Linked DNA regions of Homo sapiens: regions 2, 3 and 4 are each linked to region 1. Evidence: promoter capture Hi-C in 16 types of primary human blood cells and fetal thymus (Javierre and others, 2016). All regions are on one chromosome and are shown on one strand. The core of a region is centred on a gene start or on the middle of the fragment in contact, and the rest is flanking DNA. Distances in the headings are between cores, read along the strand shown.

Evidence for each region. Contacts are between HindIII fragments. The CHiCAGO score rates a contact against its expected background, and 5 or more counts as called.
Region 2: the fragment with the promoter of MON1A here is called in contact with the fragment with the promoter of BSN in region 1 in 2 of 17 cell types (erythroblasts and endothelial precursors); the score reaches 6.0 in erythroblasts.
Region 3: a contact is called between the fragment with the promoter of MST1R here and the fragment with the promoter of BSN in region 1, in 4 of 17 cell types (M0 macrophages, M1 macrophages, M2 macrophages and 1 more). The highest score is 6.3, in M0 macrophages.
Region 4: a contact is called between a fragment that was not itself captured here and the fragment with the promoter of BSN in region 1, in 1 of 17 cell types (M1 macrophages). The highest score is 6.3, in M1 macrophages.

What each region holds. Positions count from the first base shown.
Region 1 is chr3:49,552,959-49,556,216 of GRCh38, forward strand. BSN (bassoon presynaptic cytomatrix protein) reads left to right here and starts at 1,519. Exons shown (of 12, transcript NM_003458.4): 1 at 1,519-1,868. The coding sequence starts at 1,645. It overlaps BSN-DT (BSN divergent transcript), which reads right to left and starts at 1,408. Exons shown (of 3, transcript NR_038866.1): 1 at 1,083-1,408; 2 at 590-729. RefSeq lists silencers at 1,327-1,626, 1,697-1,906. The HindIII fragment of the contact is 4,717 bases long and covers 1-3,233 here.
Region 2 is chr3:49,928,206-49,931,463 of GRCh38, forward strand. It overlaps MON1A (MON1 vesicular trafficking associated A), which reads right to left and starts at 1,606. Exons shown (of 6, transcript NM_032355.4): 1 at 1,404-1,606. RefSeq lists a silencer at 1,313-1,662. The HindIII fragment of the contact is 4,855 bases long and covers 1-2,146 here.
Region 3 is chr3:49,902,371-49,905,628 of GRCh38, forward strand. It overlaps MST1R (macrophage stimulating 1 receptor), which reads right to left and starts at 1,503. Exons shown (of 20, transcript NM_002447.4): 1 at 10-1,503. The coding sequence starts at 1,239. RefSeq lists enhancers at 1-527, 528-1,201, 1,838-1,887, 1,876-2,548 and a silencer at 1,428-1,647. The HindIII fragment of the contact is 26,972 bases long and covers 1-3,258 here.
Region 4 is chr3:49,866,627-49,869,884 of GRCh38, forward strand. CAMKV (CaM kinase like vesicle associated) reads right to left here. Exons shown (of 11, transcript NM_024046.5): 1 at 3,132-3,258. Among named protein-coding and RNA genes, the nearest start is that of CAMKV, 1.6 kb to the right of the region's middle. RefSeq lists enhancers at 1,100-2,032, 2,033-2,964. The HindIII fragment of the contact is 2,291 bases long and covers 612-2,902 here.

The DNA.
Region 1 (3,258 bases), core at 269-2,768:
CTACCCTTACAATCCCCCATATTCGAGGAGCTACTAAGATTCTAACTTTGCAGAATAGGAAATGGAGGCTCAGTGAGCCTAAGTCAGTTGCCAAGGGTCCTATCGGGGCTGAGGTGCAGACTCTTTTGGAGCCTAAATGTGCACATGTAGTCACCACTCACGAAGCTGTATCAAACATCCTGCAGCACAGGAGGAAACACAGCAAGGACCATCATCTGCAGGAAGAGAGGCTCTCTTCATCCTAGGTCATCCCAGAGGGGCCAGGCAGTTTAGCGTGAAAACGGGAGGTATGAAGTCAGGAGAAAATATCAGGAAGTGGGGGCTCTGCATTTCCTCTTTCTCTTACTTGCTCCATCCCAGAGGTCGGGAGGAGCAGCTCGGAGTGCACAGGGGAAGGCCCAGGGAGGGTCCTGGCCCCTCCTCACAAGAACTGACACAGCCACCGGTCTGTCCAGCAGGCTGGCTATCAGCATTCACTGGGATCCCTGGATTATTCTAGGTTCAGTTAGAACTGCTAACACCCTATGTGATATATTTCGCAACATTAGGAGAATTGAATGGGTTTGTAAAATGGGTTCAAGTTACTCACGCCTTTCTACACAGTCATGATTTATGACGTCAGAGATGAACTGGAATATAGGCTCCTAGGAAATATTCTCCCACAGGAAAGTACAGGCTTGTGTGAGAAGCCACCACGGCAGACAATCCTGAGTAGCGGGCAGAAACCGGCTGTAAATGTGAGGGAGCGGGGAAGTAATTTGGAAAGCTCTCAGGGTAATGCAGAGGCAACCTGCGGCCCCGCATCGAGACAGCTCCAGGCCTGAGAACCATCAAGTCCTCTTTTCCATCCCCAAGGTCACTCTCCCAGGGCTGACTGAGGTGGCCTCCCAGCTGGCTTCACACAGCCCTGTCACACCTTCCATCTGTGCCCGGGGCGCTTCCTGAGACTCCCAGTTCCTCAGTGTGAATCCCAGATGGTTCCCATCGCCATCTGGATAAAGGCTCCACTCCCCAGCTGGCCTTAAAGACCCTCACAATCCGGCCCGACCACCCAGCACCCTCCCTCTCCTTCCCTCTACGACCTTGCGTCTCTGAATACACTTGTTCCTCTGCCTTCCCAACTCCTATGCATACTTTTGAGGCCATTCTCGGGTAGCCCCTCTCCTCTCCGAGGCCTGTCCTTATGACGCCTGCCCGCTGTGGCACTCCGGTTACCCGGAGGAGAGTTGCTACTCTCGAGTTCACCGAGGCGGAAAGCCCCTCTGACTCCAAAGCAGGGCTCAGCGCGACGTCCCAGAGGCCGCTTCTAGTGGCAGGTGCCCCTCCTCACAGGGCCCTCGCAGCCCCGCCGGCCCCCGCCCGGCTCCTTCTCAGCATGATACAACCGCGTCGGCCCTGGACAGCGCATGCGCGGGCGCCGGCGGCTGTTTCCCAGCGACCCCGAGGCTGGCGGGAGCGCGCACAGGGGAAGGGGGGCGTGTGCAGGGAAGGGGGCGCGAGACGCGCATGCGCAGCGGCAGGCGGCGGCGCGAGCCGAGCTGGGAGATGGCGGCGGCAGCGGCGGCGCCGAGAGTGTGAGCACCGCCCGGGAGCCGCCGGCCCGGGCGCAGCGCGACCCCGACCCCGCCCGCCCGCCTGCCCGCCATGGGCAACGAGGTCAGCCTGGAGGGCGGCGCTGGCGACGGGCCGCTGCCGCCCGGCGGCGCCGGCCCCGGCCCGGGCCCCGGCCCCGGCCCCGGCGCAGGAAAGCCGCCTTCAGCACCGGCCGGTGGCGGACAGCTCCCCGCGGCGGGAGCAGCGCGGTCGACCGCGGTACCACCGGTCCCTGGCCCCGGCCCCGGCCCCGGTCCCGGCCCTGGCCCGGGCAGGTAAGCGCGTGTCTCGGCGCCCGGGGGGCGGTGAGCTGCAGCCTGAGGCCGGGACCCGGGCCCAGGATCCCGCGATCTAGTGTGGACAGCGAGGTTCGACGTCCGGCCGCACTCTGAACCCTGCCGGATTGGCGTGAACTGGGTGGTCGCGGGAAGCGGCCCTTCCTTTCCAGCTGCCCCGCCTTGGCGTGGCAGGATGACGAGCGCAGGGTCAGTCGGGGCCTGCAGACCGTGACTCCGTCACGAACCCCAAATTCGCTTCTCCCCAACGCTCGGGCCTGACTGCTCAGGAGGGGCTTATGTAACCTTAACCTGGTCCCTCCGCACAGGAGAGCAATGGGATGGAAAACGTCCTCCCTGTCTGCTGGTGTCTGCATGTGTCCATTGTGCTGGGCCGAGAAAACAGCACAATGGGAGTGGCTGTCAGGGAAGATAAGTGTCACTGCGAGGAACAGAGAGATGAAAATAGTTGAACCATGAACTTGGTCTTGGGCTTTCCTTGGGCATTTAGTGGCTGTAATCACCTTTGGGGGAAAGGAAAATTGCCCACTGGACACCAAGAGGTGCTTATTTAGGCCCAACAATACTAATAGGATCATGTGCTTTCACCAAGGTTTAGGGAAACATTTTGGGGTGAAGCAAAAATGCTATTGAGTCATCCAGCACCAGATATGTTCTCGTTACCTTATGATTTAGATCAAACCAGTGGAAAAGCTGAAACCCACACAGAATGCTTTAAACAGAACATATCTGATTAAATACTGTGAAACCAGTTTGTTTTAAATGTATGCCAACCCAGGTCCTGCAAAAACAGTCAAGTGGCAATGAAGGCTGTAAGGGAATGCCAATATATAATAAGTCAGTAGACTGAAAACTCAGGAAAACTACTAAGAGATGACACGATAAAATGGAAGGCATTATCTTTGCACCAAATAGGCTTGGGGAGTAGCAAAACCCCCAGGGGGTGGGAGGGAGGTGCTTCCAGCTCCATGTGGGTCTGCTGATATATGTTGCCCTGGCTTTTCTGTGTGGAAGCACATAAACTGAGGACGCATAATTTTTTATTCTTTGGCTGCCCGACTGTGCCTCTTGTGTGTTTATTTCCTCAGAAGTCATTTCTTAGACAACTAACAGTAATGAAAGGCTGTTAGTAGCTTGAAACCTGCGGCAGACAGGTCAGCCTGTGAGCATCCTTTTTAGAGGTGGGATTTGTCCATTTTATACTAGCTATAATAGTAATGCAGTTGGATAGCACACAGCTCTTAGCACTGCAAACACTGTCCATTTTGCTGCATGTTGAGTTGCTGTTTGGGTTTTAGCTTGAGGGAGGCTCACCCAGGCTTTAGTGTTCTCCTTCCAAGGGAAAGCTTCTGTAGCTGAATGGAAAAAC
Region 2 (3,258 bases), core at 356-2,855, 380 kb after region 1:
GCATCTCCTAGGTCAGTCTGGGGTCCAGCCAGAGGCCTGATGAAGCAAACAGCTCTCTGAATACTTACTCTGGAAACTCAGACAGGGAGGCTGAGTGAATCACAGCAAAATCCACCCCAACCCCCATTGGAGCCACAACTGTGCAACTGAAGCTCCTGGGAGGCTAGAATTGAAGAAGTTAGGCAAAGGAGGTCTCTTAGAACCAGCCCCAGATGCCCCTTCTCAGGGAACCCTTCTCAGACAACCCCTCTAGAAGCCCCAGGCCTTGCTTTTCCTAGAAGTGCCCTGCTATGCCTGTGAGCAATGTCACCAAACAAGTTGGCTCAATCAGCCCTTGTAGTGTGCCTCTCTCACTCAGGCAGCCTTGGAGCAGAGAAGGCCTTCAGAAGCCCCTCCCTACTGACTCCCTACCACTCCTGCTCCCTCTTCTTGCTTGGATAGCACTTCATTTCACCTTAACCCTTTGGAGCGGCCTGTCTGGAAAGGAGGTGCCAGGATACAGGATGTGTGGCAGACAAGGCCCAGGTGAGGCTGTGCTATGGCTGCTTCAGCAGGATGCCTACTCCATGCTGAGATCACAGTCTGGTCCTTGTCACTTCTGGCGGTTACTTCCCTCCCTGACAAAGGGTGCTCACTCTCCCTCTGCAAACTTGTGCCCAGAAAGGGTGGCTCACCCAGTACAAGGGACAACCCAGTTGCACCAGGCAAACTGGTGCAAAGTCCGGCCAGGCGCAGTGGCTCATGCCTGTAATCCCAGCACTTTGGGAAGCTGAGGCAGGCAGATCACCTGAGGTCAGGAGTTCAAGACGAGCCTGGCCAACATGGTGAAACCCCGTCTCTACTAAAAAAATACAAAAATACAAAAAATTAGCTGGGCGTGGTGGCGCATGCCTGTAATCCCAGCTACTCGGGAGGCTGAGGCAGGAGAATCGCTTGAACCTGGGAGGCGGAGGTTGCAGAGAGCTGAGATCACACCACTGCACTCCAGACTGGGCAACAAGAGTGAAACTCCGTCTAAAAACAACAAAGCAAAGACCCAAGCCCCTTCCAGGTGCTGCCCCGCTCATCCCAGTTACCTCTGTTGCTTTTTGAGAAGACTCTACCGGCCGAATATGTGTACGTTTGTTGGCGGGGCGGGGGTGGGGGAGTGGGGAGAGTCCTACCTGGCCACTGCCCCCTACCGGATCTCGCCCTCCCAGCCAAAGGATGGGTTCCAGATCTCGCCTTTTGTATTCCCCAGCTGGGGACTAGCCGGCTGAGGGACCGCAGGGAGACACAGTCTTCCCATTGCAAACGATAGCGTTGATGGCTGGAGGCCCCCGTCTTCAAGCCCCTCCCTCCAAAGATGACAGCTCTCCAGTCTCTAGGTGCCTCCAGGCCACGTGGGCTGGCAGTCAACTCACCTGTTTCTCAGAGGAGTCCAGGACGCACAGAAGGTGCCGGTCACTGCCCTCTGCCGGACCCATGGAGGGGTAAGGGTGTCCGGCCGGGGCCGGCCTGAGGGCACAGCTTCGCGGGGCCCCGGCCCCCTGCGTACACAGACATGGCCACAGCGCAGGCACCGCTCCCTCCCACCGCCCTCACCCGGCCGCCGGTGCAGGAAGATAGCTTTCGCCGGCCTCTCGCGGCCAAGGCCCAGCTCCAGCCGCTCAGCCCGACTCGGCCCGCCCCCGGGGTGCATTGTGGGAAATGTAGTCCTTAGCGTTTGGCCGCCTGCGGCGCCGAGGGACTGGTTCTGGGCTCCTAGTCCCAGCAGAGCCGTGGGCAGGTCCTGACCCGGGTCCGCGATTGCCTCATCCGGCGCCGCCTTCTAGGGGCCTGGGCGCCTCCTCCGAGTCTAGAGTCCCACACAGAACAGCCCTGGACTCTGGGCCTCTCCGTCCGAGCCAGCTAGCAGTTCATTTCAAGTGAGAGAAAGGGACGTTAGGATTGTTTCTCCCACTGATTGTGGAAGGACAGTGCAAGTTTGGGGGACTGGATAAATGTCATTAGTGGGCCCAGCCACACAGGCTGTAAAGGATGTGGGCATGCGCAAAAGTCGCACTAATTGTTTCTAAAAACATATTTGTAGCCACGTTTTAATGTATCAGTATAATGCTCTAGAACGGTAGTTCTCAACTCTGACGGCACATAGAATAAGCCGGGAAGCTTTAAAAAAAAAAAAAAAGAACTAGGACGGGCGAGGCGGCTCACGCCTGTAATCCCAACACTTGGGAGACCGAGGTGGGCGGATCACTTGAGGTCAGGAGTTCCAGACCAGCCTGGCCAACATGGTGAAACCCCATCTCTACTAAAAATACAAAAACTAGCCAGGCTTGATGGCGTGTGCCTGTAGTCCCAGATACTCGGGAGGCTGAAGTGGGATTCCAGGAGGTCGAGGTTGCTGTGAGCCATGATCATGCCCTGCACTCCAGCCTGAGCACCAGAGCGAGACCCTGTCTCAAAAACAACAACAAAAAAACTAATGCCTGGACACCAGCCCTAGAGATTTTGATTTAATTGAATTTAGAGTAGGGTGGAGTGTTGGGGAGCCAGGCATCACTATTGTTTTAAAAGCTCCCCAGGTGATTTACCATTGCAAAGAATCATTGTTTGTAATTTCCTAGACGCAAAGCAATAAAAACAACAGGAAAACAGTCAACAACAGGCTCTCCCAAAAGACCCTTATTTTTAGAGATGGTTTTAAAAAGTAAAATTAGTGTTTGGCACCACTGCTCATGTTCTTTTCTGAAGCAATTAATTCACTTTACAGCCTTATGGTTAATTCTCCCAAAAGTTAATAGGATGAAAAAAAAAGTCAGATCACTCCTCTGACTTTCCCTGCTGCTCCACAAGCACCTGGGGGCAGTGTCCTTTTCCTCTCTAAGCCCTACACTGGAGTTAGGGTAGAGCTCCGCCCCTGGGCTTTTCTTCCAGTCTCAGATGGCTGCCACTTGTAGCCTGCTTCCACAACACTGGCCTGTGACTGACATGGTGACAAAGCTGTGGCCTTTCACTGAAGATGGCTTTGCATAAGGCTATCAAGTTCTTGCACATAGTCTAAGGGAAGCTTTCTCACCCCCATGTCCCCCACTTTTAGGTAAGGACATAAGAAAATGCCCTATTCCTTAACTGAGAGTCTCTCCAGGTCTCCACAGATCACTCAGTATTTTATCTCCTCATTAGCTCAGAAGTCCAAGTTCCCTCCCTTAGGGCAAGAATCATTTATACAGTTGTTTTCTCTAATTATTACACTATAAGAGTTTGAGCCATGAGCTG
Region 3 (3,258 bases), core at 253-2,752, 350 kb after region 1:
TCAGCTTACCGGGTTGGGGCAAAAACTGGGCGACTGGAAGAAGTCGAGGCCTCGCCGGAGGCCTGGATGGACTGGGGATTCACAACAGCGCTCCACACCCTCATCAATTAGTGTGTCCAGCAGGTCAATGGGGAAGGCACAGACGACAGAGTTGGGGCCCACGCCAGGACCACCATCCTTGCCAGTCACAAAGACCCCAAATAGTACTTCCTGGCCCTCGGCGATGCTCAGCTCAGTGGCAAGTTGGGCACCCACTGGAGCGGAGTGGGCCACCCGCAGCACAGGGTAGGGCTGTCCGCCTTCTGGGGCCCCCCGGCGCCTGCGTTTTGGAGCAAATCTGCAGTCGAGGACCAGCTCCCGATAGTCACCCAACTCTGGCTCAGTGGCGCTAAGCCGTGCCAGGCGTGTGTGCAGGGCACTAGGATCATCTGTCACGCTGGCCGGCTGTACAGTCAGGAAGTATACGAAGGCTCCCGTGTGGAAGCTGTGCACGTATTCAATACTGTAGGAGACAAGATGCTTGGGCAGCACTGACAACGCCACAAAGCCCGGTGCGAATCCCGAGGCGTCAGCCTTGAGACGCCTGATAGACACTGAGCGTGGGCTGAAGCTGGCAGCCACGGCTGCGTCCAGTGAGGATGCCACGTAGAAATAGGAGGCCTGGCCTTGCTCAACCACAGTTACACGGGTGCCCAATGGGCTGGCCACACAGTCGGGGCAGTCATCGGGCCGGTTATGGTGGGCTGAGAAGAGGCAGGCTGGCGCTGCCAGATGCACGGCTGTCCCTTGGGGCTCTAGGTCATGCAGGAAGCAGCGGCCCTGCAGGCTGGAGCCACAACTGACCAGCGCAGGCAGCGCGGGATCCAGCACCAGCACCTTTGTGTCTGTGTCACCGGGAGGGCCGTGGGGTCCTGGGCCACAGGCTGCACACGTCTGGCAGCCAGGGTCTCCAGCAGGGCCCGTGGCCAGGCTCTGGACAGACTTCAGGTCAGGCCCAAGCACATGCAGGCGATTGCGTATGGCTACAAACACAGCACTCTCATTTCTGTCGCCCTCGTAGGTCACCATGGCCTGTACCAGGCCTCCGGCGGAGAAGCTGGGCACCACGTACTTCACGTCAAAGTCGCGAGAGGCCGCGTAGGGGGTGCGCGGGCACTGCCAGTCCTCGCCCGCCGCGGGCTTGGCAGGCAACAGCAGCAGCAACAGGAAGGACTGAGGCAGCGGCGGGAGGAGCTCCATCGAGGCGAGCTGGGACCCTAGAGGATCCCTACCGGCCTGGGCCTGGACCTGGGCGTGGGCCTGGCTGGGGGCCCGACTCGAGGTCTGGACTGGGCCAAATTTAAGCAGCGGTCCCGACAGCCCCAAGATAGCGGACCCCCGCCCCAGGTTCCTGTGAAACCCAAATCCCTTCCCGGCCCTCGGGTCTGAGCACCTGACGCCTGCGGACGCACGACAGCAACGCCCCAGCCGCCTCACCTGCCGCCCCAGCCGCCGCTGTACACTGGCGCTTAGCGCTCAGCCGACCCGAGGGCGCCGGGCTGGGCGGGCGGAGTCGGGCCGTGGGGGCGGGGCCGCGAGGAAGGCTTGGCCTAGCCCAGGCCCTCCGCCCATCCGACTCTTCCGGCCCTTGGAGGCCTGGCTCCTGTACCTTCACCTGGCGTCTTGGCGCCTTTTTCTCAGCGGCCTGTGGGTGGATGTGCATGGTGTGGCCTGGAGAGAGGTGAGCCAGTCTGAGCCGTCCCATCCCATCCCCCCACTACCGACTGGTTCGCAGCGAGAAGGGGGGCAGGACACTGGGCTCTTTGCTTGCGGTGGAACTAGTTTGCACTTAGTAGCAACACCCTCAGTGGCTGGTGCCCAGAGGTGGCCTGGGGGCCCACCATGTGGAGAACAGAGACCAGGATTGTGTGGAAGACCAGAGGGGAGATGTGGGGCACTTACAAGAGATGTTATGGGGCGCCACCCTTTGTGGGAAAGGACTGTCCTTTTTTTTTTTTGAGAAGGAGTCTTGCTCTGTGGCCCAAGCTGGATTGCAGTGGCGCGATCTCGGCTCACTGCAAACTCCGCCTCCCAGGTTCAAGCGATTCTCCAGCCTCAACCTCCTCCTGTCTCAACCTCCTGAATAGCTGGGATTACAGGCGCGCACCACCACACCCGGCTAATTTTGTATTTTTAGTAGAGACAGGATTCACAGTGTTGGCCAGGCTGGTCTCAAACTCCTGACCTCAGGTGATCCGCCCGCCTCAGCCTCCCAAACTGTTGGGATTACAGGCGTAAGCCACCGCGCCCGGCCGGGACCATTCTTCCATGTGCTTCTCCTGAGCTATCAGCGACAAGATGGTGTCAGAGGAAGGTGTGTTATGCCCTGCTCTCCCAGGGCCATAAGGGTCTTAGGATGGGATCTGGCCTTGCTGACTGGACCTCAGAGTCAGAGAGGCACGTAAGTGGAGGCCCATACCTCCTCTGCAGCCTCAGTATATGGAAGCTGTATAATGGGGTCCACAGTATGGGCCTTGGGGACTCCCCCTTCCTTCCTGGCTCTACCCAGTGCCCCCCTGATATGGAGGAATCATGGGCTTTGGCTCTCAGGACACTTCCAACATGCTCTGTAGGCCTTGCTGGATCTTATTCTCTTCAATGAGAATGTAGTTCTGGGCTGGGCACCGTGGCTCATGCCTGTAATCCTAGCACTCCTTTGAGGGGCCAAGGCAGGAGGATTGCTTGAGGTTAGGAGTTCAAGACCAGCCTGGGCAACATAACAAAACTCAACAAAACAAAAAAACTGCTAAAAATGTTTTTAAAATAAAATATGTGACCGGGCGTGGTGGCTCACGCCTGTAATCCCAGCACTTTGGGAGGCCGAGGCGGGTGGATCGCTTGAGGTCAGGAGTTCAAGACCAACATGGTGAACAGACAGATCTGGCCAACATGGTGAAACTATCTCCACTAAAAACAAAAATTAGCCGGGCGTGGTGGTGGGTGCCTGTAATCCCAGCTACTAGGGAGGCTGAGGCAGGAGAATAGCTTGAATTTAGGGGGTGGAGGTTGCAGTGAGCTGAGATTGTGCCACTGCACTCCAGCCTGGGTGACAGAGCGAGACTCCATCTCCAAAAAAAGAAAAAGAAAACGTAGTTCCGACTAGGTGATTTCCCAGAGTTCTCTCTTCTGTTTATGAGGAGTGGGGGTGGGGGAGCCTAGTCCCACACTTGGATCTCAGCAGCTGCCCCTTGGTAACTGGTCCCCCAACACTAGACTGAG
Region 4 (3,258 bases), core at 507-3,006, 310 kb after region 1:
TGGCTCTCATGGAGCCTGAGAGCCAAGCACTCCCCAGTTATGGCCTGCTCCCAGGGCCTGACCACTGGACTCAGGGAATTGAGCCTCCAGCAATCCTGAGGGGTCCTCTGTTGGTGCCCTGGTGATAAATGGTCCCCCAGGGACTCTGCTGCATCTTTAGGTAAGTCTGGCCCAGGGAAAGCCCAAACGGGACAAAGGCCAAGAGGTCCGGAGGCCCCACATTGGGGTCCTGTCCCCTCCTCCGCTGAGATCATCCTGGTTCAGGCCCTACCTTTCATAGACATAAACAGAGTTTCCTGCTACCTTGGTCCCCTGCCACGTGGGGCTCCAGAGCTTGCAGTAAATCTAGGGAGGCCAGGAGGGGCCCAAGAGGCCTCCAGCTGCCTCCCAACAACTGTAGGCAACACCTCCTAATTTAGTGGCAGCTGTGAACACCAGCCTGCAGGCACCCCCTCCTCTCTGCTGCTCTACTCTCTCAAGGGCTGGGGCTGGGTTTCCTGCTGCAATGAACATGCTGAAGCCCAAGCCCTGCTTAACTCACAGCTGAGGTGTCACCCACAGGACCAGGGGAGCTGAAGACCTCCCTCAAGGTCTGTTAAGAACAAGGGCCAAGCTTCTAGACCACCATCCAATTGCTTCAGGGGACCGGTCAAGGGGCTGCCCTGACTGAGCCTCCGGCTCGAGCTAAATCATGGTAGAAGTTCCTACAGCTGAATTTTGCCCATCTAATGAGGGAGTATTGTGGGGAGGTCTCTCCAGTTTTGGGGGTGGGCATGCAGTCCAGTGCTACATCCCGAAAGTTTAGCTGTCAACATGCAGGCAAAGCCAAAGGCCAGCTGTCTCCTCCCAAGCACTTGGGGTCCAAATCTCTGAACCCCTGAAGGAGAATCCACTGGAGGCTCTGCTTCCCTGTGGGTGGAGGAGGGGAAATGCAGAGGAAGGCACTAGAGTAAAGGGTTGCTATGGTGATGGAAGTTTTAAAACAAGGGGAGGGGGAGGGGAGATGTGTTGGTCAGGTCCCTTCTTCAAGAATTTCCTGAGACCTTAGCCTGGCTGCTTCTTCAAGGTTCTGTGACCCAGGTCCCCATCAAGAAAGGGGAGGTGGGGAGATGGAGAGAATTTAGAAAAAAGAGAATGGGGCAGAGACACAGACAAAGACAGAACCTGTGATGGAAGAGGAGCAAGGAGATGACAAAGTAAAAGGGACACAGGCACAAAGGGCAGGAAAGGGGAGGTGGACGGGAGTTCTGAAGGGGGCGGATGGGTGCCCAGCAGAGCCCTAAGGCCTCCATGGCGATGTGCTCTAAATCCCTGGGCCAGGAGCTATCCATGGTACTGGGACCTTCGAGACTGCACCCTCCTGTATCCCCCAAACATACACTGAACTTGGTGTAGGAGGCACAGCCAAAAGGAGGCCAGCTCCTTGGAGCATGTTGGTGGGGAAGAGGCCAGCTGCTGCAGCCCCCCAGTCAGGACAGTTCCCAGCCCGTCTCTCTGCCATCACGGCAGCTTAGGTAAAGCAGGTCCAACATGTTGAAGGCAGACGCATAGGGGTATGGAAATGAGGCTCGGATGCCTGGCTGCTTCCCTTTATAGTCCCTCTTCTCAGTTGGCCCAGCTGTACTTAGACCCTCCCAGCCAACCCCTCCCCCATCTGCTATCCTTTCCAGGCTTTGGGTCCCCAGAGCCCCTCTTACAGCTCTGCTTAATCCCCTCTCACCAACCCCCAACAGCAGATCCTGCCATGAGTGCCAGAAACGGCACCACAAGCAACCCAGAAACAGGATAACCACACAGCCCTTCACCTCCCCATGCCTCAGTTTCCCCTAATGGAAACCATGGAATCTGGCCTTCTCCCAGGGCAGAGGACTGCTTGCCTGCCTGTGAATGGTGGCCAGGGCATGGGGCTGGAGAGTAGGGCCATCAGAGATATGTGAACAGCCAGCCTAGGAGAGCACCTGAAGGGTCCACACCAAATATTAGAAAAGGGAGACCCTTGCCCCACCCTGGAAACCAACCTGACTCTGAGTGGAGACACCAGTTCCCCAGTTGAGGAAACTGAGGCTCAGAAGTCGCTGGAGCTGCCAGGAATCAACTCTGAGGGTGGGGGAGGGCACCAGGTCTCTAAAGGTAGTCCTGGGGGCTCAAAGCCTGGACTTGGGGGTAAGGGGAGTACAGCACAGGGACTGGACTACTGCAGACTCTGAGCTTTTAGTGTGGGACAGAGGGCCCTGATCCTTAGGAAGGAACCTGGTGGAGCAGGATCTGCCTGGGAGGTGCGGACAAAAGCAATTTGGCAGAGCTATGCGGGGAGGGGGCTGGGGCTCAAGAGCCCAGGGTCTCTGCCAAACAGTACAAGCTGGGGAAGGCAGAAGCTCATGCTGTCACTATCCCAGCCACCTCCAGCCAGGGGCCCTGCTCCCCACCGTGCTGCCACCCTGACCCCTTTCCCAAGTGCTGCTGGCTCGCCCCCGCTGGCACAGCAACACACATGCGGAAAGCACACGTGTGAGCACCAAGCCCCGCACCTCCCAGCAGGAACATGTGCGCCCCCACCCCCACCGTGCACGTGGGTCCATGCACTGGACCCCCAGCTGGCACCCAGGTGAAGGCTTGGAAGCTGAATTTTGGCTGGGGGGCTGCTGGTCCCCAGGGGCTTGGAGCTTCCTCCCCCACCCCGCGGCAGCCCCGCCCAGCCCCCTCCGGGTTGTCGCCCATAAAGAACTCTCCGTTGTCATGGAAATTAGTGACTGCTAAGCGGGAGGGAAGGGGCCCGGGGACAGTTGGGAGGGGCTGGAGGCGGCTCTGGGAACGGGGAGGGACGGCTCAGCTCTCGGCCCCTATCCTCACGGGGGACCACGAATCTTCGAGGGTTAATCTTTTCACAATTCCGAGCCGCAGAAGCTTCCCCCCAGAACCCCCAAGCCGTCCGAGGTAATGGGGAACTTTAGCCCGACCCCGCACTCCCTCCCCCAAATCTGCAAAGCCCGCGCGCTCTGACCCCGCCAGGACCTCGAGCCCTCGCTGCGCCCCCGCGCACTCTGCATCCCGCACCTCGAGCCAGGGAAACAATCCCCCAAGGCCCCACAACCTGCGTTCGGGAAGCGCCCCCAGCCCGGCCCGCCCCGCACCTGCAGCGCCGGTTGGTCACAGGGAGGAAGTGATCGCGGGCTCAGCGGGGCGCCGAGGGCTCCGGGGACGGCGGGCAGAATCCGCTCCGAGCACGCGGGGCAGACGCGGCGCCAGATGCAGCCGCTT